Regions from separate parts of the Homo sapiens genome. Here all the other regions are linked to region 2. Evidence: promoter capture Hi-C in 16 types of primary human blood cells and fetal thymus (Javierre and others, 2016). All regions are on one chromosome and are shown on one strand. The core of a region is centred on a gene start or on the middle of the fragment in contact, and the rest is flanking DNA. Distances in the headings are between cores, read along the strand shown.

Evidence for each region. Contacts are between HindIII fragments. The CHiCAGO score rates a contact against its expected background, and 5 or more counts as called.
Region 1: a contact is called between a fragment that was not itself captured here and the fragment with the promoter of DHX29 in region 2, in 1 of 17 cell types (fetal thymus). The highest score is 6.9, in fetal thymus.
Region 3: a contact is called between a fragment that was not itself captured here and the fragment with the promoter of DHX29 in region 2, in 2 of 17 cell types (endothelial precursors and megakaryocytes). The highest score is 8.8, in endothelial precursors.
Region 4: a contact is called between a fragment that was not itself captured here and the fragment with the promoter of DHX29 in region 2, in 1 of 17 cell types (monocytes). The highest score is 5.0, in monocytes.
Region 5: a fragment that was not itself captured here is called in contact with the fragment with the promoter of DHX29 in region 2 in 1 of 17 cell types (fetal thymus); the score reaches 6.2 in fetal thymus.
Region 6: a contact is called between a fragment that was not itself captured here and the fragment with the promoter of DHX29 in region 2, in 1 of 17 cell types (endothelial precursors). The highest score is 5.4, in endothelial precursors.
Region 7: a contact is called between a fragment that was not itself captured here and the fragment with the promoter of DHX29 in region 2, in 1 of 17 cell types (fetal thymus). The highest score is 6.3, in fetal thymus.

The regions. Positions count from the first base shown.
Region 1 is chr5:55,982,337-55,985,094 of GRCh38, forward strand. IL6ST (interleukin 6 cytokine family signal transducer) reads right to left here. Exons shown (of 17, transcript NM_002184.4): 2 at 388-475. Among named protein-coding and RNA genes, the nearest start is that of IL6ST, 11 kb to the right of the region's middle. The HindIII fragment of the contact is 3,957 bases long and covers 1-2,758 here.
Region 2 is chr5:55,306,401-55,309,259 of GRCh38, forward strand. DHX29 (DExH-box helicase 29) reads right to left here and starts at 1,294. Exons shown (of 27, transcript NM_019030.4): 1 at 987-1,294. The coding sequence starts at 1,173. It overlaps MTREX (Mtr4 exosome RNA helicase), which reads left to right and starts at 1,589. Exons shown (of 27, transcript NM_015360.5): 1 at 1,589-1,747. The coding sequence starts at 1,614. LOC124900979 (a long non-coding RNA gene) reads right to left here. Exons shown (of 2, transcript XR_007058774.1): 2 at 1,749-2,037. RefSeq lists enhancers at 963-1,222, 1,363-1,842. The HindIII fragment of the contact is 7,705 bases long and covers 1-2,859 here.
Region 3 is chr5:55,915,177-55,917,970 of GRCh38, forward strand. IL31RA (interleukin 31 receptor A) reads left to right here. Exons shown (of 15, transcript NM_139017.7): 15 at 1,468-2,794. The coding sequence ends at 1,944. Among named protein-coding and RNA genes, the nearest start is that of IL31RA, 65 kb to the left of the region's middle. The HindIII fragment of the contact is 5,310 bases long and covers 1-2,794 here.
Region 4 is chr5:55,954,670-55,957,631 of GRCh38, forward strand. IL6ST (interleukin 6 cytokine family signal transducer) reads right to left here. Exons shown (of 17, transcript NM_002184.4): 9 at 2,540-2,622; 10 at 1,356-1,566; 11 at 141-323. Among named protein-coding and RNA genes, the nearest start is that of IL6ST, 39 kb to the right of the region's middle. The HindIII fragment of the contact is 4,335 bases long and covers 1-2,962 here.
Region 5 is chr5:56,000,921-56,003,620 of GRCh38, forward strand. IL6ST-DT (IL6ST divergent transcript) reads left to right here. Exons shown (of 2, transcript NR_102755.1): 2 at 829-2,700. Among named protein-coding and RNA genes, the nearest start is that of IL6ST-DT, 7.1 kb to the left of the region's middle. RefSeq lists an enhancer at 2,241-2,535. The HindIII fragment of the contact is 938 bases long and covers 910-1,847 here.
Region 6 is chr5:55,892,862-55,895,948 of GRCh38, forward strand. All of the region lies in intron 6 of IL31RA (interleukin 31 receptor A), which reads left to right. Among named protein-coding and RNA genes, the nearest start is that of IL31RA, 43 kb to the left of the region's middle. The HindIII fragment of the contact is 3,126 bases long and covers 1-3,000 here.
Region 7 is chr5:55,934,980-55,937,985 of GRCh38, forward strand. IL6ST (interleukin 6 cytokine family signal transducer) reads right to left here. Exons shown (of 17, transcript NM_002184.4): 17 at 116-3,006. Among named protein-coding and RNA genes, the nearest start is that of IL6ST, 58 kb to the right of the region's middle. The HindIII fragment of the contact is 1,342 bases long and covers 790-2,131 here.

The DNA.
Region 1 (2,758 bases), core at 235-2,734, 680 kb after region 2:
AACTAAAATTGCCAAATAGAAGGCAAAATAATGCTTGTTGAATTAATAAGTTGCGTGGGGATCAAGATGAAGAAAATTTCTATATATCTTTCACAGTACAGTGTTACTGTGAATAAACTGCCAGAAGTTGGTAATACCTACACAAAATTAACTAATTATTAAATTAGTTTTTAAATTATCCACTCTGTTCTCTTCCATTAGTATCAATTATGAGTTCATAACAATTAACACTAGGATATTATTTTACATTACACAAAATGTTGTCACATAAATTATTTCACTTTAGTCTCCTAATATCCTAAAGAATCAGGTGAGTAGGGCAGGGATTATTTATTGGAACTTTGTAAAATAAAAAAACAAAAAATTCAGACAAGATCAATTACTTACCCAAATCACAAAATTAGTAAGTGAAGGAGTAGGGATTTGAAGCTAAGTCTTCTACTTCTAAATGTCATGCTTTTTCCATTGGGTTTCACTGTAAAGAGAGGAGAGTCTTGTTCAGAAGGCTGGCTTTGATAATTTTATTATATGTGTACTTTAAAAATCCCCATCTGCTCTTAGGCTTTTGGGTTTGCAGAAAGTATCCTACTTTAGATATGTTCTGAGCTTCAGAATAAAATAAACCCATAAACACTTGTATAAGAGTATTCAAATATTCTAGTGCTTTTTTTTTTTTTTTTTGAGACAATGTCTCACTCCCATCACCAGGCTGCAGTGCAGTAGCACAATTACAGCTCACTGCAGCTTGAACTTCCCAGGCTCAGGTAATTCTCCCACCTCAGCCTCCCGAGTAGCTGGGACTAGAGATGGCACCATCATGCCTAGCTAATTTTTTTATTTTTAGTACAGATAGTGTTTTGCCATGTTGCCCAGGCTGAGCTCAAAGGGATCTGCCCACCTCAGACTCCCAAAGTGTTGGGATTACAGGCATGAGCCACCGCGCCCAGCCCTAGTGCTATGATTTGATATACGCTTGCAAACATTATTGGCTCACCCACACCTAATGCAAACTTCCCTGACGTCTATGTAATGTCACAGAAACATGACAGGAACATTTATGACAGACGGAGTTCTTTAACAATCACATATTTCTTCTTCTACTAGCACTAAATTAAGCCTGCTAACAACTATTCTATGTAACCAGAGATAAAAATCCATTTTAAGATTTGTTCACTTAAATTCTAGCTTAAGTACTAGTGCTCCTCTTTGAAATACAACAAGTAACTTCAAACTTAGGCAAGGAGTTGAATCTTCCATTATTGTTTCATACACATTAAGCCTTTGATATAACTTAATAACACATAAGGAATTAAATTTATAAAAATATTTTTTAAATGTCTAATGAAAAGAAACTGAAAAAATGCCATGTGAAAGTGCACTATAATCCCACCAAGAGATAACTACCATGAACATTTTGGTGGATATTCTTGCAAAATTTTTTATACATGTATTATATAACTTTACATTGTATAAATATACACACTTTTCTATTTTACAAAGATGGGATCATGTAAGTGAGAAATGTTTTATAACCTTTTTCACTTAACACTACATAGTGGACATCTTCATAAGTTAATATATAGAGAGTAATTCCTTGTAGCCTTTGCTCAAATTCACCTCCTCATAGAGATCTTCCCTAACCACCCTGTGTTTCTTATACCCCTTTACTGATTTTTTTTTTTTCTACAACACTTAACACCTTCTAAAATAGGCTAGCAAACATTTTCTGTAAAGGGCCAGATAATAAATATTTTAGATTTCGTGGGCTTTAAGTTCTCTCTTGCAATTAGTTAACTCCGTTATTAAAGTGCAAAAGCAGCCATACACAATATGTAAATAAGTGGGCATAGGTATATTCCCATGCAACTTTATTTATAAAAATGGCTGCAAGCTGGATTTGGCTTATGGGCTATAGTTTGCCAACCCCTGTTCTAAATACAATATAATTAAATTAATTTTCTTTTTGTTTGTTATGGGCTGAACTGTTCCCCCCAAAAAATATGTTGAAGTCTTAACCCCAGTAGCACAAAATGTTACTCTATGGGCAGATTTAATTGGATGTTATAGTGGAGTATAATAGGCCTTTAGTACAATATGACTGGTGTCTTTAAAGAGACAGAGCCAGGAAGAATACCATGTGAATACACAGGCAGAGATTGGAGTTATGCAGCTGTAAGCTAAGGAATCTCAACGACGATGGCTACCACCAGAAGCTAGGAGAGGCAAAGGAAGATTCTATCCAAAGTCTCAAAAGGACTTCTAGCCTCCAAAACCTTGAGAGAATAAATTTGTTGTTTTGAGCCACCCAATTTGTGGTACAGGTTGAACATCCCAAATCTAAAAACTGAAATGCTCTAATTCCAAAACGTTTTGAGCTCTGGCATTTTGGATTTCAGATTTTAGGATTTGGGATGCTTAACTTTAAGTATATAATGCAAATACAACACAAACTGAAAAAAAAAAATCCAAAATCCAATATACTTCTGTTACTAAGTATTTCAGGTAAGGGATACTGTAACAAAGGGATGCTCTATTACAGTAGCCCCTAGGAAACTAACACATAGTGTGTGTCCCCAAAATAGAAGGTAAGTGAAGAGTGGAATGGCTAGGCCCTACGGCAGGTGTGTGCTTGGCTATATCTTCTTTGATGATGTGTCTGTTCAAACATATTGATCAACTGGGTTTCCTGTTTTCTCATTAAGTTTTGAAAGTTCTAAGAAGATATTCTGGCCTTTATTAGAAAATGGATTTACGCATT
Region 2 (2,859 bases), core at 44-2,543:
TAACTGTTACATTTCCAGACACCATCCATGATACCTGCTCATCCCGAGAAAAATTAGATTACCCTGTTAAACTGTCTTCCCTGGCTTTTCTTTGTGGCACTTATCTATTATAAGGCTATAAATATGTCTGTGTGCGTTACCTATTAGTTAATACCTATCTCTGACATTAGACTGGCAAGCTCCATGAGGTGATGTCTCTTTTTGCTCATCACATTCCTCACATCTTATCAGACACATACTAAATATTTGCATATATACACATAAATGCTCAGCAAATATTTCTTGAATACTCCAATAAGTACAAGCAAACAACCCGAGAAGAACACAACAGAATGTAATTGTTCATCTTTTGAGCTCAACCGTAATATGTGGCCTGCTCATCTGCAGCAGGAATCGGCCATCTATAAGTTGAGTTGTCAAATCAATTTGTACAGTAAGCAAAACTGCATGGCGGCAGAAACGAGGGCAGACAATTTTACAATAGATTACACGTAACCAGTGTGTAACCAGTGTGTAAGTCCTGTAATTTTTATTAAGTATTGATTTTTCCAGAACGCATGGAGACACTAGATTGTTGCTGAAAATGATATGAAAAACTGACAGAAAATGGGGCTGGCTGGCACCAGGAGGTCAGGAACTCCACTCAGTACTCGTCTTTGCGTTAGCCTAGCTAGCTGAGATGGTGCTCAGGATGAATTCCTGCTGAAACAGGAGCTAATGCAATTATTTTGTTTTTAGAAGGGGGAGAAGTGTGAGTTAAAAGAGAAATGCCAGGCTGCAACAGGGCTACTGTCAGAATTTTGGAGGCCCAAAGAGCTTAGACTTTTTTAATCTAAAACAAGGCCACCCCATGGGGAGGTAGCAGCTCGAGTGTTGGGAAATAGAAATGTTGGGCCCGAAGCTCCTCCCGGGTTCTAAGGCCCTTTCCTCAGGACAAGCAGCAAGGTCTCAGGGCAGACAGCCAGGGGCTGGGGGACCTCTCGTACCTTGCTTGACACGGGGCTCCCTGGAGCCGGCAGCGGCAGCGGCAGCGGTGGCCGGCCTGGACACTGGCTTCTTGCTTTGGGCCTCCCCGGCAATTCCAGCCTCGGCAGATTTGGCTCTGGAAGCAGACACGGCGGCCCGGACCACCGCGGCCGCTGGAGCCTTGTGTTTCTTGTTCTTGCCGCCCATGTTGCAGCTGTGGCAGAAGATCCTTCGCGGCCCAGGCCCCGACGGTACCACTGCACAGCCGAGAGCTCTTCACATTCCCCGGCTCCGGGGCTGCCACCCTGCGCTTCGATCCGGGCTTCTCGGGCCGGGGCGACCGCTGCCTCGCAATTGGTCGAATTCAGCAGGCTCCGCCTCCTTGAGTCGCCAGCTGCCTGCCACACGCCAGGCGCCACGCGCCGCCCTCGCTCTTTATCCACTGAGCAGCTTATCCACTTTAGGTCGGAAAGGAAAGGAAAGAAAAGCAGGAAAAAAAAAAAAAGTCAGGGGAACATTTTTGTCGGCTGCGCGACTCGACTACTTTTGTCTCCTGCGGGCCACTGTTGAGCCTTCACGAGACGTCACTGTCTTCGGTCGCGGGGCATCGTGGGTAGGAGGGAGATTTGCTCTCACTGCTCCCAAAAATGGCGGACGCATTCGGAGATGAGCTGTTCAGCGTGTTCGAGGGCGACTCGACCACTGCGGCGGGAACCAAAAAAGACAAGGAAAAGGACAAGGGGAAATGGAAGGGGCCTCCAGGGTCTGCAGACAAGGCAGGGTAAGGAAGAAGTTCCAGTTGTTGCTTTTATTTTTTTTCTCGGTGGGGAGGAAGAAAACACTACTCTCTTAGGAAGAGCACGAGAAAGTGAAGTGTACATTGAGTGGCGTTGGAAGTGAAGGGGTTCCAGAAAAAAGTTGGAGAGGGTGGAAGAATGTTGGTTCGTGGAAGGGGGGTCTTGGCGTTTCCTGGTGTCTGCAGGCAGCGTGATCTTCTGCTTCAATTCCCTTACGTCGATGTTACTGATTCTGTCCCCATCTTCGCGGTTGTCTCCTGCATCAGCACAACACCTGGCACATAGTCGTTAATAAACAAAACGAATGATTAGTTGAGTAAAAGGTGAAAAGGTTTAGAAAAAATGATATGAATTGATTTGGAGGGGAAAGGGCAGATAATAACATGAGAAGGGAGAGACATTTAATCTCCAAGATGTAGTAGTTTTCTCTTCCGTAAAATGGAGATAATAGTGCCTACCACTGGTGGATATGAGGATTCAATGAGATACACGTGTAAAGTGCCTAACAGTGGTTAGCTAGCTATCACTAATAAATGGTAGCTATCGTGAGTTTATTGAGAAAAAATTTAAAAATTACTGGACCCTACCCATATGTTTAGACTGGTGCATACAGCCACCAGAAAGTGTACAGATCTGTTTATAGTAGAACAAGGAAAAGCTATTACTTGTATTAAATAAAGTAAGATGATTAATTAACAATCAACAAAATATACTCTTGGCATTGTGGGGCCAGATACCCAATAGATGCTTGAAATTAAATTAGACATGATTTTGCTCTCAAGGAATTTTCGGTGTAGGGAAAGAGAACAGGTACCCATTAAAGAGTTACAGTATAGGTGAGGAGGTCGTTAACTTAAAATGAATGATATATACAATTAAGTGTTATAAAAGTTCAAGAAAGGGAGATCCTATTTCTGACTTTCAGGAAGGCTTATTTATATACAAGAGAATATTCTGAGTTAAGGAAATTGTGTTGTTAATGGTGCCAAGTTTGTTTGTTTTTAGGAGCATAAATTGAGCAAGAGGAACTGTTTCATTTAGGGACTACAAGAGATAAGACTGGGAATATACATTGATTTGAGAACATGAGGGGCCT
Region 3 (2,794 bases), core at 240-2,739, 610 kb after region 2:
AACTGGTCCCATAAAGGATGCTGCAGAATAAAGACACTGGCCCTACCCTTCCTGACCTGATGGGCTAATTAGAGAGAGAGGAGCCTTGGCTATAGGATTTGAAGCCATTTACAAAGCAGCCAAGAGCACATTAATCTAAAGACTGTCTAAATATCACCAGGGAATGTTGATGGGCATGGCAGTCTGAGGCTGCCTCAGGTTGTTTTTCTCAGGCTGGGGACGTCAGAGTCAGGCTTTATTTAACTGGCATTGGGGTTTTCTAGTGAGTATTCCTTAACTAGAAACCCTCCATTTGCATAAATTTTTAAGTGGAAAACCGTTAGGGAAATTTTAAGGTTTAATTTCTTGCTTACGTAGAAACAAGCCCAATCAAATATAACCTTTAAATCCTTGTTACTGAAAGGCTGTTTCCAGTTTTTCCTTGATGCACAAATTTTAAATATTAGTCCTCGTTCCCACTCAGAAGTCTTTTTTGAGCATGGGCCTTTTGTTATAATGGGCTTTCTTTCTGTTTCCTCCTCTTATCAGTCCGGTATACTGGACTGATTTATACCCCCATTTACTTTCCTGCTTATTAAATGTCATTTAGAGAGTAAATGGATTCATAGGCAGTGCTCTCTGATAACTAACATGCTTTTTGAATAATCCGTAGGTTGGACCTCTAGAGCCGGCACTTATTAATCACTCACTACATGCCAGGTGCTGGGCTAGGCCCTAGGGATACAAATGACAAAGTCACTGTCCCTGCCATGAGGCCACTTCTGATTTTCTGGTGAGGTTGAACAAGTCTGTCTCTATGATGTGGTTTTTCCATCCCTAAGAGTTCTAATTTTAGTTCTTCCATCTTAACTGGGGTTTTGTGAACATGGGATTGTGTGGAAAATAGCCTTGCACACTCTAGCAGAAGAAATTGTTTGAATTGGCTGGGTACAGCGGCTCATGCCTATAATCCCAGCATTTTGGGAGGCCAAGGCAGGGGGGATTGCTTGAGCTCAGGAGTTTAAGACCAGCCTGGGTAACATGACAAAACCCCATCTCTACAAAAAATTAAAAAGTAGCCAGGTATGGTGGTGTGCATCTGTAGCCCCTGCTACTCAGGAAGCTGAGGGGGAAGAATTACCTGAGGCTGAGAAGTTGAGGCTGCAGTGAGTGGTGATCATGCTACTGTACTCCAGCCTGGGCAACGGGAGTGAGACCCTGTCTCAAAAAAAAAAAAATTATATACATATAAATAAATAAATTTTAAAAATTGTTTGAATCCAGGGCACTGTTTCTCAGGAAATGTGCCACTCCTTCCAAGCTCTGTGGAAGGGCATGCAGAGAGGGTTGGCTACCACTTCTGGGCCTGGGAGGAAGGTGGGGGCTGTTCCAGAGATGGGCATTTGCTGTCCCAAGCCTAACGAGTTTTTGGCTATGTCATATGTGACTCCTAAATGACCACTTGGGATGTCCCTTTTTCTTTTCCAGGATAAGCTAAACCTGAAGGAGTCTGATGACTCTGTGAACACAGAAGACAGGATCTTAAAACCATGTTCCACCCCCAGTGACAAGTTGGTGATTGACAAGTTGGTGGTGAACTTTGGGAATGTTCTGCAAGAAATTTTCACAGATGAAGCCAGAACGGGTCAGGAAAACAATTTAGGAGGGGAAAAGAATGGGTATGTGACCTGCCCCTTCAGGCCTGATTGTCCCCTGGGGAAAAGTTTTGAGGAGCTCCCAGTTTCACCTGAGATTCCGCCCAGAAAATCCCAATACCTACGTTCGAGGATGCCAGAGGGGACCCGCCCAGAAGCCAAAGAGCAGCTTCTCTTTTCTGGTCAAAGTTTAGTACCAGATCATCTGTGTGAGGAAGGAGCCCCAAATCCATATTTGAAAAATTCAGTGACAGCCAGGGAATTTCTTGTGTCTGAAAAACTTCCAGAGCACACCAAGGGAGAAGTCTAAATGCGACCATAGCATGAGACCCTCGGGGCCTCAGTGTGGATGGCCCTTGCCAGAGAAGATGTCAAGACTCGGCACGCAGCGCTTGCTTGGCCCTGCCACATCCTGCCTAGGTTAAAGTTTCCCCTGCCCCTTGAGCTGCCAGTTGAACTTGGTCGGCAAAGATGCGACCTTGTACTGGGAAGAAGGGATGGTGATAAGCCCGAGTTTTGTAAAGGAACAGCAGTCTCTTTTCGTTTGTTCAGATACCAAGCTCTCACCGAGGCCTCCTGACAGATTGACTTTGAAGGAAGGGCCCAGGTTCTGAGCCCAAAGGACCCCCAGGGTGGACATATCTGGCCTCCCAGGAATTGGGTCATGGTCCCAGCCTTTGCTGGGGCTGAGCCTCAGAGTTCCAGAAGGCCTTTCCCTGCTGCCAGAGGACAGTTGTTTTGTTGGCTCTTGGGTGGTCTGGTGGGAGCCTGGGCTCTGGTCTTCCCCTACAAGGTAGCCCTGAAGCCTTCCTCTCTCCCCATAGTTGGGGCTGGAGGTGGAGTGGACCTTCCTAAGGGGTTGTCTGAGGCTCCTCACATCCTCTTAGATCTCAAGTGCCTGTAGCAACACCGCACCTGAGAATCCTCACCCCCAATTTAGACTGCATTGACTACTAAAAAATCAAGGAATGGGGAGGGCCCTGGGGAATGTATGCTGCCGGGCGCAGCTCTGTCCAGTCTCCAGGGGGCCACTTCCCAGCTGCTGCTGCCCTTCTATTCAGCACCCAGCCTGGGAGCAGAAAGGCACCTGACATTGCAGTGGTTGTCATATAGGGACGCTGGCCCCTCACACTGGTTCAGAGCCCAGGAATGCTTACTTA
Region 4 (2,962 bases), core at 338-2,837, 650 kb after region 2:
AAAGTCACACATCTAGTAAGTAGTGAGGCTATGATAAATTGGAAGTCGTTTCAACGGACCAAAACACTATAAGCAAAAGAAAAAGCTGCCTAAAGAGTTAGAAAAAGGATATCAATTTAGATGTTTCTAGCCAGGTATACCTCTTAAATAGGTGCGATGCACGGTACCATCTTCTTGTTGCCAGTCTGTGATACAGGGTGCTTTATCTGATAACACACACCACTCAAGTATATATTTCTTTACAGATTCCCTTGGAGTAGTCCATTCCACCCAAAGCATGTTATCTTTGGGGAATGCTTTAAGATCCATTACAGGGTGAGTAGCTTTAAAACAAAGTTTGAATATTGAAATAATAAATATTAACAAATTTGAAATTTCCATATTTTACAGTCATTTCCAAAACATGTGATTTATCAATTTTTGTAGCATATACTTCCTTGCCTAAAAGCACTTTATTATAACTTACAGGTAAAGTAGTCAATTTTTAAACTTAGATTTTGCTTCCCCGCTGGGCACTGTGGCTCATTCCTGTAATTCCAACATTTTACGAGGCCAAGGCAGGTGGATCACTTGACATCAGGAGTTCGAAACCAGCCTGGCCAACACGGTGAAACCCCGTCTCTACTAAAAATACAAAATTAGCCAGGCATTGTGGTGCGTGCCTTTAATTCCAGCTACTTGGGAGGCTGGTGCACAAGAATCGCTTGAAGCCAGGAGGCAGAGGCTGAGATCGTGCCATTGCACTCCAGCCTAGGCGACAGAGCAAGACTGTCTCAAAAAGAAAAAAAAAAATTTGCTTTCCCTAAATTCTTCAAATGCTTTCGGTTTGTAATTGCAATTTTTCTTCTTTGAAAGCTACGAATAAAGCTACAGATAAACGTTTCAGTCATATGTATACAAAGTTCTCAAAATCTTGAAATAATATTTTAAAAACCAGGTAAGTAATCAGAATATGCTTAAATGAATGAAGTAGCTTACTGTGAAGTTTAAGTGAGCATGTAGTGATGGAAATGTTCTTGCATCCTGATGAAATTTGTCTGCTGACTGATTCCTAAAAATGCGATCACTAGCTGGGTTTGGTGGCATATGCCTGTTAATCCCAGCACTTTGGGAGGCCAGGGGAGATCGCTTGAGCTCAGGAGTTCGAGACCAGCCTGAGCAACCTGGCGAGACCCAGTCTCTGAAAAAAAGAAAATCATTATTTATAAAATTTAAAAAATTAAAAAATAAACAAGTGATTATCCCTGATACTGAGGAGACAGTCTTAGATAACTTGTGTTTTTTATGGGAGCCCTGTCCATACCTAACCACCATTTTTCCACCCAAGAGTCAGGCTCCATCTCACAGATACAAACCTTGAAAGTCACAGGCAGGGATAGTTAAAACAGCTGCATCTGATTTGCCAACAAGATTTCTTACTGTTAGGGTTGCTAGATAGCGATCATTTGTGAGATTTACTGTCAGTTTTGTGGCATTAACTGTGTAATTTTGTAAATGTGATTTCCATCTTGTGAGAGTCACTTCATAATCCAAGATTTTTCCATTGGCTTCAAAAGGAGGCAATGTCTGTAATAAAATAGTTTATTTTTAAAAATAATCTCATAAATCTTGAATAAAAAATCAGTTTTTCTTCATATTCACAAATCATGCCATTATGTCAAATCTCTAAATATTTAACTGGAAAGGATTCACAATCTCCATTTTAAATTTGGTTCTAAAATAAAACTAGTACATACTAAATGAAGAGTAAAAGCATGACCTCAACTAAAAAAGGGTAAGTAGCATCATTCCGTTAGCTTTTGGTTCTGTATCAATTCTGCACTGTGGCTATGTAGGTCTAAATTATTTATTTTATGCTTGAGTATTTTTCTACCTTCTTTTTTAGTATGATCTACTCATGCACTTACCAGCATACATTTTGATTATCACAAACTTTTATTATTTTCTGAGTTACTCTGGAAAATTCCAAAGTACAAAAACAACATTCCTCTTCTTATAGAACTTATACTTTCACAGAACTGTACTTAAATACCTATAAGGTATTATTTGTAGTTTATGAACCTGACTTCTATATAATATTAATACATATAAAGCATTACCTTTCTATTTAGTAAAAATAGTAATCAAATGCTTTGCTATTAAAATGAATAAAAATTTATCTATTTAAAAGACCTCCATTCATAATACCATACAAAATGTATTTATAAGGGCTGGGCGCGGTGGCTCATGCCTGTAATCCCAGTACTTTGGGAGGCCGAGGCAGGCAGAACATGAGGTCAAGAGATCAAGATCATCCTGGCCACCGTGGTGAAACCCTGTCTCTGCTAAAAATACAAAAATTAGCGGGGCGTGGTGGCGCACACCTGTAGTCCCAGCTACTCAGGAGGCTGAGGCAGGAGAATCACTTGAACCTGGGAGGCAGAGGTTGCAGTGAGCCAAGATCACGCCACTACACTCCTGCCTGGCAATGGAGCGAGACTCGGTTTCAAAAAAAAAAAAAAAGATTTATAAGAGATAAAATATAAATGTGATTTTTTACCTTCCACACGAGTTGTACAGTTCTGTAGCCTTGAGTATGGGATGGATCTATTTTATACCAGAAACTTGGTGCTTTAGATGGTCCTAAAGAAAAGACATAAACTCCTTAAAATAAAAAGGTTTTAACAGTAAAATAAAATTCTGCAAATTATTCTTTTACTTTGTTCTTAATACTCTTGCCCTCCAATTGCATGGTGTCTCTACCTCTTTATACCAGCATTTTCCCAACCCAGCACAAAACACCTGGCTCTTCCTTTAGTCAGGGTGATAGCCTGATCAATTATACTGGAACTCTTTTCTAACCTCAAAATTGTAAAGGTAAAAATGTATTCTGAGCAACAACTAAAGAGGCATCACTCTTTCTTATAACTTCATGTTCTTTATTCTGTTTGTGTGCTGGCACTGTATTTATCTACTTGAATCT
Region 5 (2,700 bases), core at 129-2,628, 690 kb after region 2:
AGCTGGGCGTGGTGGTGGGCGCCTGTAGTCCCAGCTACTTGGGAGGCTGAAGCAGGAGAATGGTGTGAACCCGGGAGGTGGAGCTTGCAGTGAGCCGAGATTGCACCACTGCACTCCAGCCTGGGTGATAGAGCAAGACTCTGTCTCAAAAAAAAAAAAGAAAGAAATAAGCACTGCTCTGTAAAGGTAAACACAGAGGAAGGGATCTAGCTCAGAGATCTCCATACTGTGGACTTCCAGGGATAACCCTGGTCAAATAGCCATGGGCTGGTCAATGATTTTGAGTTACTCTTTGAGAGGGAAGCTTGGCTTCAGAGAAGGAAAGGCCAGTGCAAGACATGTGAGCAGCAGTTAGGTGCATCCTATTCCTAGACACATACATAGGATAAGGAAGTCAGGTATTGGGACTGTAGCTTTGGAATGGACTATACTTGCTTCAGAATATTATCAGGGGGAGTTTGAGAAGCAAGGGCTTTCCTTCGTTGATTCTCCTTTCACCAGTCTTCCTGGAAAGAATATTCTGCAGTTACAAAATAGGTTCCTTGGCTGCCAGTCTGATACTTGTGCTAAAACCAAATAGATGAAAAAGTATCAACATGAATTTTAAAAAATATATTGTGTGAGCTTGTATAGCTAAGAATTCCCAGCCCCCTACATAGGATCTGAAGAAAGATCTAGTACTAATTGTATTAAATAATGGTTTAGGCAAATGTGTATCTGTCTCCTTAAGAGAGGAAGGCAGTCCCTACTGTAAAGTAAAAATGAAATGGATATACTTCCTGAGAGGGCTGGAATTTTCTGATAATTGTCCCCTCTGATTTTTCACAGGATTTACGGAATGGCCATCTTCCATAATTAACAAATAAATAAATGAAATTTAATGTCAGGGTCAAATGAAACTGGAAACAAAGCTTATCTGGTGATATATCAAATTATGAGAGTCATTATTTGGATGTAAGGATATATGACAGATAGACTCTTAGGAGAAATGCTATGACCTCCTGCTTCTTGGTATTCCTTGTGTGATTTCCTCCTCTTGAGTGTGAAGGCATGTATGTCATTGAGTTATATAAGATAGTGCCCATCTTGCTAGTGTCTCTCTCTCTCTTGTGGCTCTGAAAAATCAAGCTGCCTGCCATGTTTGAGCTTTGATATGGAAAGACCCACATGTTAAGGAACTGAGGGCAGACTCTGCCAACAGCTAGCTTTGAAACTGAATCTCCCGGCCAGGCACAGTGGCTCATGCCTTTAATCCCAGCACTTTGGGAGGCCAAGGTGGGTGGATCACAAGGTCAGGAGTTCAAGACCAGCCTGGCCAAGATGGTGAAACCCCATCTCTACTAAAAATACAAAAATTAGCTGGGTGTGGTGGCAGGCACCTGTAATCCCAGCTACCCAGGAGGCTGAGGGAGAGAATTTCTTGAACCCAGGAGGCAGAGGTTGCAGTGAGCTGAGATCACGCCACTGCACTCCAGCCTGGGTGGCAGAGCGAGACTCCATCTCAAAAAAAAAAAAAAAAGAGAGAAAGAAACCAAATCTCTCAGTCCTACAACCTCAAGGAACTGAATTTTGCCAACAAAAGCAGATCCTTCCCCAGTCAAGCCTCAGATGAGACAGCATCCTCAGCTAACAACTTGTTTGCAGCCTCATGAGAACTGAAGCAGAGAACCCAGCTAAACTGTGCCTAGACTCCTGACCACAGAAACTGAGATAATAAATGTGTGTTGTTTTAAGCTGCCAAGTATGTGATAATTTGTTATGTAGTGGAGAACTAATACAACAGGGAAAAGTTAAAAGCTATTCACATAAATATTTATAATGGATACTATTTCTACACATTTAAATCAAGCTTCTCTTACGTTCATAAGAAGATACGAATCTGGAGAAGGAAATTATATCAAGCAGAACGCTGCTCTGGTGTTGTGAAGACGGGATCCCACCATTCTAATGTATTCAATTTATTTATTCAATAAGTTTTGAGCATCAACTATGTTCCAGGCACTGAGATATTAATCTAAGGAAGACACACGTGTTGTCCTCATTGAGGAGCTCAAAAGTCTAATACATAAACCAACAATCATACAAAAATCATAGCCATGTTACAGTGCTATGAGGAAGATGTTAAGAGAATATTCTGGAAGTACTCATACATAAATACTTCAGAAACTGGGCATTATAAGAAGTCAGTTGCCTCTCTCTACTTTCAGTTCTACATTTTTATACCTTGTAGTGGATTTAAAATGGCCACAAATTCTTCAATACTCTTCTATGGAGAGATTTGAGGGCTATTTCCCTTCATCTTGAATTTAGGCAGGCTTGTTCAGGGTCTGGCTTTTAAGAGGAGCTTTCACCTTGGTCTGTGGAAGTCCTGAGTCACTGTGTACAAAGTCCATCTACCTTATTACACCATCTGGAGAGAGCTGAGACTACAGGGAGAGGGGGAGTGGCCCGGCTGATCCCAGTCTTCCTAGTGACCCTGCCCAGGAACTTGGCATGTGAGTAAAGCCATCTTGGAACCTCCATACCAGACCAGCCACGAGATGAATAATACTAACTGATCCCAGTCAATGCCACATAGAGCAGAAGAACTGCCTAACTGAATTCTTTCCAAACTGCTGACTCAAAAATTTGTATGGTATAATAAAATGTTTGTTTTAAGTCACTGTTTTGTTAGGAGTAATAAGCAACCAGAATAAAATT
Region 6 (3,087 bases), core at 188-2,687, 590 kb after region 2:
TTATCAAAGTCACCACTAGAGAACTTTTGCTTTTGTCCTTCTTCATTTTTTCAGGATCCCAGAAGAAACTGATTAAAATGCACCCCCCAGCCAATCCTCATTTCTTGTTTTCAAATTTATAAAGCGTGTGTTTTCCTATTTCAATGAAATGCCATTTGTTTAATGCGTACCACTTCAAACCTCTCTAATTGTTTCAAAACATGTATTCTAAGTTGAATGTGAAGCACTGCCTATTTTATTTTGGATTTCAATATATTGATTATTAGAGTTACTTACCTATATTTAGGCATTTAAATATCTACTCACTACATGATACAGAAATAATTTGATTCAAATCCTGGCTTTATTTCTTAAACGCTTATGATATTGAATACCTGCTTAATTTCTCTGTGCTTCAGAAATGATGATTAGTAACATTATTGCTGTATCTGATTACAGGGCTGTGGGCATTAAATGAGAAAATTCAGAGAAACTGACACTTGCTAAGAGCTAGCTTGTATTATTGTTGGTCTCTAGCAGGGGCACCTGCACATGTCTAACTGCTGCTGGTTGTGGGGATGCCCATACTGTCATAGAAATGGTATAGCATCAATTGTTGCTGCATCAGTCCAGACAATTGATGCCTTTGAATATGTAGACATTTTGGTTGATTTGGAAAATTTTAATTTTTTTTTCAGAGTCCTTACATTTCCCCCTTTGATTAAACTGAAAATCCATGATCAATTTACGGTTAATGGAAAGCTGGCTATAATAACTATAGAAGACTTACATGGTAGTGAGGCAGCAGTTTCACTAACAGCTGCATCTGTGGGAAGTCTATACTGAGAAGACTGTCTCTCTTTGGACCATATTTGCAGGAAATAGTGGCCTCAATGAAAGAAGAAAATATCAATTTAAACTCATTTATTATTACCATCTACAAAAACAAAATGGCTGCCTATGAGATAATTTTTTTTTTTTTTTTTTTTGAGACGGGGTCTCACTCTGTCACCCAGACTGAAATGTAGTGGTGAGATCTCAGCTCACTGCAGCCTCCGCCTCCCAGGCTCAAGTGATCCTCCCACCTCAGCCTCCCGAATAGCTGGGACTACAGGTGTGTGCCACCATGCCTGGCTGCCTATGGGCTAAATCCAAGAAGAATTTCACTCATATTTCTAGTCAAGTGCCTGGAATGATTATTTAATAATCAGTTTAGCTTTGCCTGTATCTATCCTTGAGATGAATATTTAGGACTGGGTAGTAATGAACACCTTGTCTTTAGATTTTTTTTTTTTTCTTACTCTCAATATTACTGGCCTTAAGTTTGACTCTCCACATGATTGGAACAGAGAGATTCTGCACGTGAGAGATGGAGTAAAGGTCCCTCTAATCCTGCGGGTTTCCTTGGAAGGTCTAATGACTTTGTAGTCCTGTACAAAGGCTGTCTTCTGGGAGGAACTTGGCCACTGCTTACATCTCACTGGCTTGTAGACAGGGTGAAACCAGCCTGTTGCTTCCTGTCTGAGAAATTTGAGTACCGGCTGTCCTGTCTTATGATTCAATAAAAGCCTTTGAGAAATCAGAAAACTCATGGCAGAGCTTTTGAGACAACACCTCAGTGGGATTCAGATGAAATAATATGTAAAGTCAACACAGTTCAATATCCTTATAAGCAATTCTAATGGAATTGCATTTATCTCATTGGGAGATCCTGGGCCTAACAGCTAGACTGTGTTAACTAGACTTTGGCTTCTGCAAGAGTAGTTGTAGAAGTGTGACTCTCCATTAAAGGCAAAACAAGTTATTAACTCAATTGTACTTGGTACATTTTCCTCATTATAAGGTTGTCTTTAGCTGGAGTTCAGTTATTTTACTTTTTTAAAAACAATTCTTTTGAGACACGACTCGCTCTGTTTCCCAGGCTGGAATGCAATGGCGCGATCTCAGCTCACCACAATCTCCGCTTCCCGGGTTCAAGCGATTCTCCTGCCTCAGCCTCCCGTGTAGCTGGGATTACAGGCACACACCACCACACCCAGCTAATTTTTTATATGTTTTGGTAGAGACAGGGTTTCACCATTGGCCAGGCTGGTCTCGAACTCCTGACCTCAAGTGATCCACCTGCCTCGGCCTCCCAAAGTGCTGGGATTACAGGCATGAGCCACCGTGCCCAGCCAGTAATTTTACTTTAAGATATCCAATCACCTACAGTTTAAAAGATCCCTGAAGACAATCTCTTACTTCTAAAAAATAGTTTAGATATTGGTCTGAGTGGTAGACTCATTCTTTGTGGACCTAATTACATTATCTCCAGCCATGCTACTTCCTCAAGAAAAAATTCAGAGTGCAACTACTGCAGCTTTGACTAGGGACATTTACTCTCTTCTCCAAATCGTGGGCCGCTAGCCGTCTCGACATTTGTTTAGAACTCTCTGCTTTCCTCTCATGGCTAAGGTGGGTGGGTCGTTCTCTAATCAGTAGCTCAGCATTTTGATATTTCAGGTGCATGTCAGGGCATTCAACTATAAATTGCCAGTGAGCCATCTCCTGACAAAACTTGCTTGAGACAGGATATTTGAGAGATACAGTCCAGAAATCAAGTGAAATGTAAATTCCTTGTTTTTTGTTTCATCCCTATATGGTTAGATCATCAGAAGCCTGTACACTTGGACTATTGTCTCAGACTGTGTTGTTTACTGGAAAAAGGCATGTGTCAGGATTTATGCCCTGGCTATTTATAGAAAACAGCTATGAAAAATGCACATATATGATATTTCTGTGCTTTTGCTCTATTGGGATTACAGATATTGGCTTTTACGTTACTCTCTGTCCTTTTTGAAAAGATCCACGTGATAAATTCCATTTATGATTTCAGTGTTCGTAACCAGAAAATAGTTTCCCTTCATATGAATTTCTAGGTTTCCTTTTTATTGGGCCATGGGAAATAGGCACCTCAATGTGATTCTTTTTTATTTTGGGAAAACCAGCGTTAAATTTAGAGCTCAAGGAGGGACCTAGTGAAGCTTATTGTCTTATTCCTTTGTCATTTAATTTTTTCTTTTATTTTATAACATCTCAAGTATGTGGTTTTATTTTTTTGGAAGTAGA
Region 7 (3,006 bases), core at 211-2,710, 630 kb after region 2:
TGGGGGAGAAACCACTTGTGGCCGTTGAATTACTCTGGCTAGCCTGTCTCAGAAAGACCATCCACAGCCAGGGCTAATGAGACAGTTGAAGAAAGAGAAATACTTTACCTGAGGGTTTTGGTTTTTTTTTGGCTTTTATTTTTGTGTGTGTGGATTACCACCATATAGCTCACCATGTTATCCCAGAAAGACTACAATTTCATACAGAATGCACAGATGTTTAAATAAAAAGCCATTTAAGTGAGGGGATAATTCTCACTAAAAAAAGCTCAAAAATAAGAAATGACAATTCTAGATACACTTTTTTGACATGTAAAATGACATAACCATAGTCACAGGGAATAAAGAATCAGGTTTGAATGTCCACAGGTTTCTAAAACTAAGCTCTGGCTTCGTATCTGTTGAAAATCTTTAGCGGTTGGGGAAAATAGCTATATTTAAAAACAAATATTGAATTTTGAGTTGAAAGGTACATTTTCCTCCCTTGATGGAGACAGAACTTTTCTATGGAGAACCCAAGCAGCCTTTCCATGATCTTACTAAGTTGTCCAAGAGCCAACCCCGATCAGCAGCAACAGGACTCAAGCTGTTCACCCTGCTTTCGAGTTGGCTGAGCTTCCTGCTGCTTTCACACATTCTTCTTTTTCTACCTCAGTTCCTCTTTGCTTGTAGTCTTTCACTCCATTAACTTGCCCAAGCACTGGACTTAAGTATGGAAGAGCCTATACGCAGTTGTAATATATTTCGTATTTTGAAAGTGTAGAAGTTTGTATTAATTTAAAAAGAAAAAGCTTAAATGGAAAGTTAAGCAATCCTGAACAAGAAAACTCTCTCACTGCCTTTGGGCTAGAGAAAGAGTATGCTCTCAAGGAGTTACATAATCTTTTCCAAAGCAGGATGGACTGTATCTATCATACACATTAGGATAAGATGAGCCACCACACCTTAAAGAAATCAGGCTTGAGCCTATACAAGCCATAACCAAATAGAAGATTTTAAACAAAGGAGCACATAGCCCAAAGCTGACATGTTATTTCTATAAACTCTGGTATATATGTGAAGGAGTTACTGTTGGCTGGCTTGTGGGTTTTTTGACTCACTACATTTTTTTAGACAAAATCACAATGTGAAGGCACATTAATAGTTGAGATTTTCTTTTCCTTCCAGGTGGACTTGCTGACTGATTAGTTTCATATACTACTTAGTAACCTCAAGAAGTAGCAGGAGGATGCCATGTATCAATCTTGAACTTCAAGTCTCACTGCAACAAGGATGGAGACTCCAGCAGAGTGCAGGGTGGGCACAGACAGGCCACAAGATGGCGCAGCACCTCCATACTTGGGCTCTTGACAACCAAGTAGGTTTTTTTTTTTTTTTTTTTTTTTAATGTCCACTAGGAGGGAGGATGCTACGATTTCAGACCTCAGCTATTAAATAGTAAATCTGGAAAACTAGTGGATAAATTTGCCATCTCCATTCTATGTTATTAAGACCAAGATAGTGTACTGGTTTTCTTTTAAATCACATTCCATTATGTCATTTAAAATGTCACAAAACCCACACGAAGCATCTCATTTACACTAAGATGCTTATTTAGCTAACACCACTAATGATAAATGCTGTTACAAATATGCATAGTCAGATGATAGTAACCACATACAGAAAAAAAATTTGAACAAGTATTTATTTCTTAAAATTTACTTAAGGGATTAGAGCTAATATATAATAGAACATTTAATATAACATTTGGAGTTATGTCAACATAAAAATAGCTGTGGTTACAATTAGCACATGCAATTCACTGCAAAGGTAAAAATACATGCTATACTCTAGACAAGCCTTCCAAATGAAGTTAGAGTAGATGGGGTAAAACAGCAAGTGAACATGAAAGGATTGCACTTAGAAGAAAGTGGGACATAGCTAGGATATAAAAGAAACATACCTAATGCTAGTCAGTCACTGCATTGTCCTACTAGCAAATTGCACATTTATTTTTAGAGTATATTCAATACACATACATATTGAGACTAGAGAATTTTCAAATATCTACCTTTGAAATATCCCTTTGTTTCTAACACATCACATTATGGTATTAATGTAACAGCACTTAAAACCTGTAGTTATCATTCAAAGCTTGTGTTCAAGAGATAAAAGAACATCATTCAGACAAAGCCTGTGTTCAAGAAATAAAAAAAACATCTATCACTATCGGCCTTAAATGCATCTCATCACACGACCCATCAACTTTAATGAAATGGGTAATGAAGTTAAACTAACCAGTTTGTACAAACTATTGACTGAGAAAAAGCCCTTAAAAATTTAGGAACAAATGAGCAACAGAAGAGCTCACCCTGAGCTGCCACCTTTTAATTTTTAATGCAATGTATATGAGAATATCATGCTAATGCACATACTAGTAGCATGTATGATGGAAAAAAATAGGTTAATGCAAAAGATAATACGCTTGGCTTTGTAAAGTTTTGTTTTGACTTACATCATCTGAATTCTGTTTATCGAGTCTGAAAAGGAACTGCTGCCAAGGACCAGTCCAAAGAAGAATTAGGCTGTAAGACTGCTAGTTCATACCTTCTTTGAAATCAATGACAATGTCCAATTTTAGGCTAATCCTAAAACACTTGCCATTTTATGACTCCATATTCTTTTAATTTACAGAAAAGTACAAATTTTTTAGAAAGTAATCTTATCAGCACAATATAATCTAACAATACCTGTAATAGAAAGCTATCCCAGTAAATTTTTTTTGAACAATTGAACTTTTGTCTTATGCAGCTTATAACTTTGTTATTTTATTCATCTCAACAAAATAAAACTTTATTGAAACAAAAGTGTATGGTTTAGGAATATGCTCTTAATAACAACTGAGCAAAATTAGAATGATGTGGACTATAACAGAATGAAGGAAGATCTCTCCTGCTTGATGTACTTGGTCAATATATGTTAGTAAACAGAAATATTTTAGGGAATTCTATGATTATTCTACTTCTA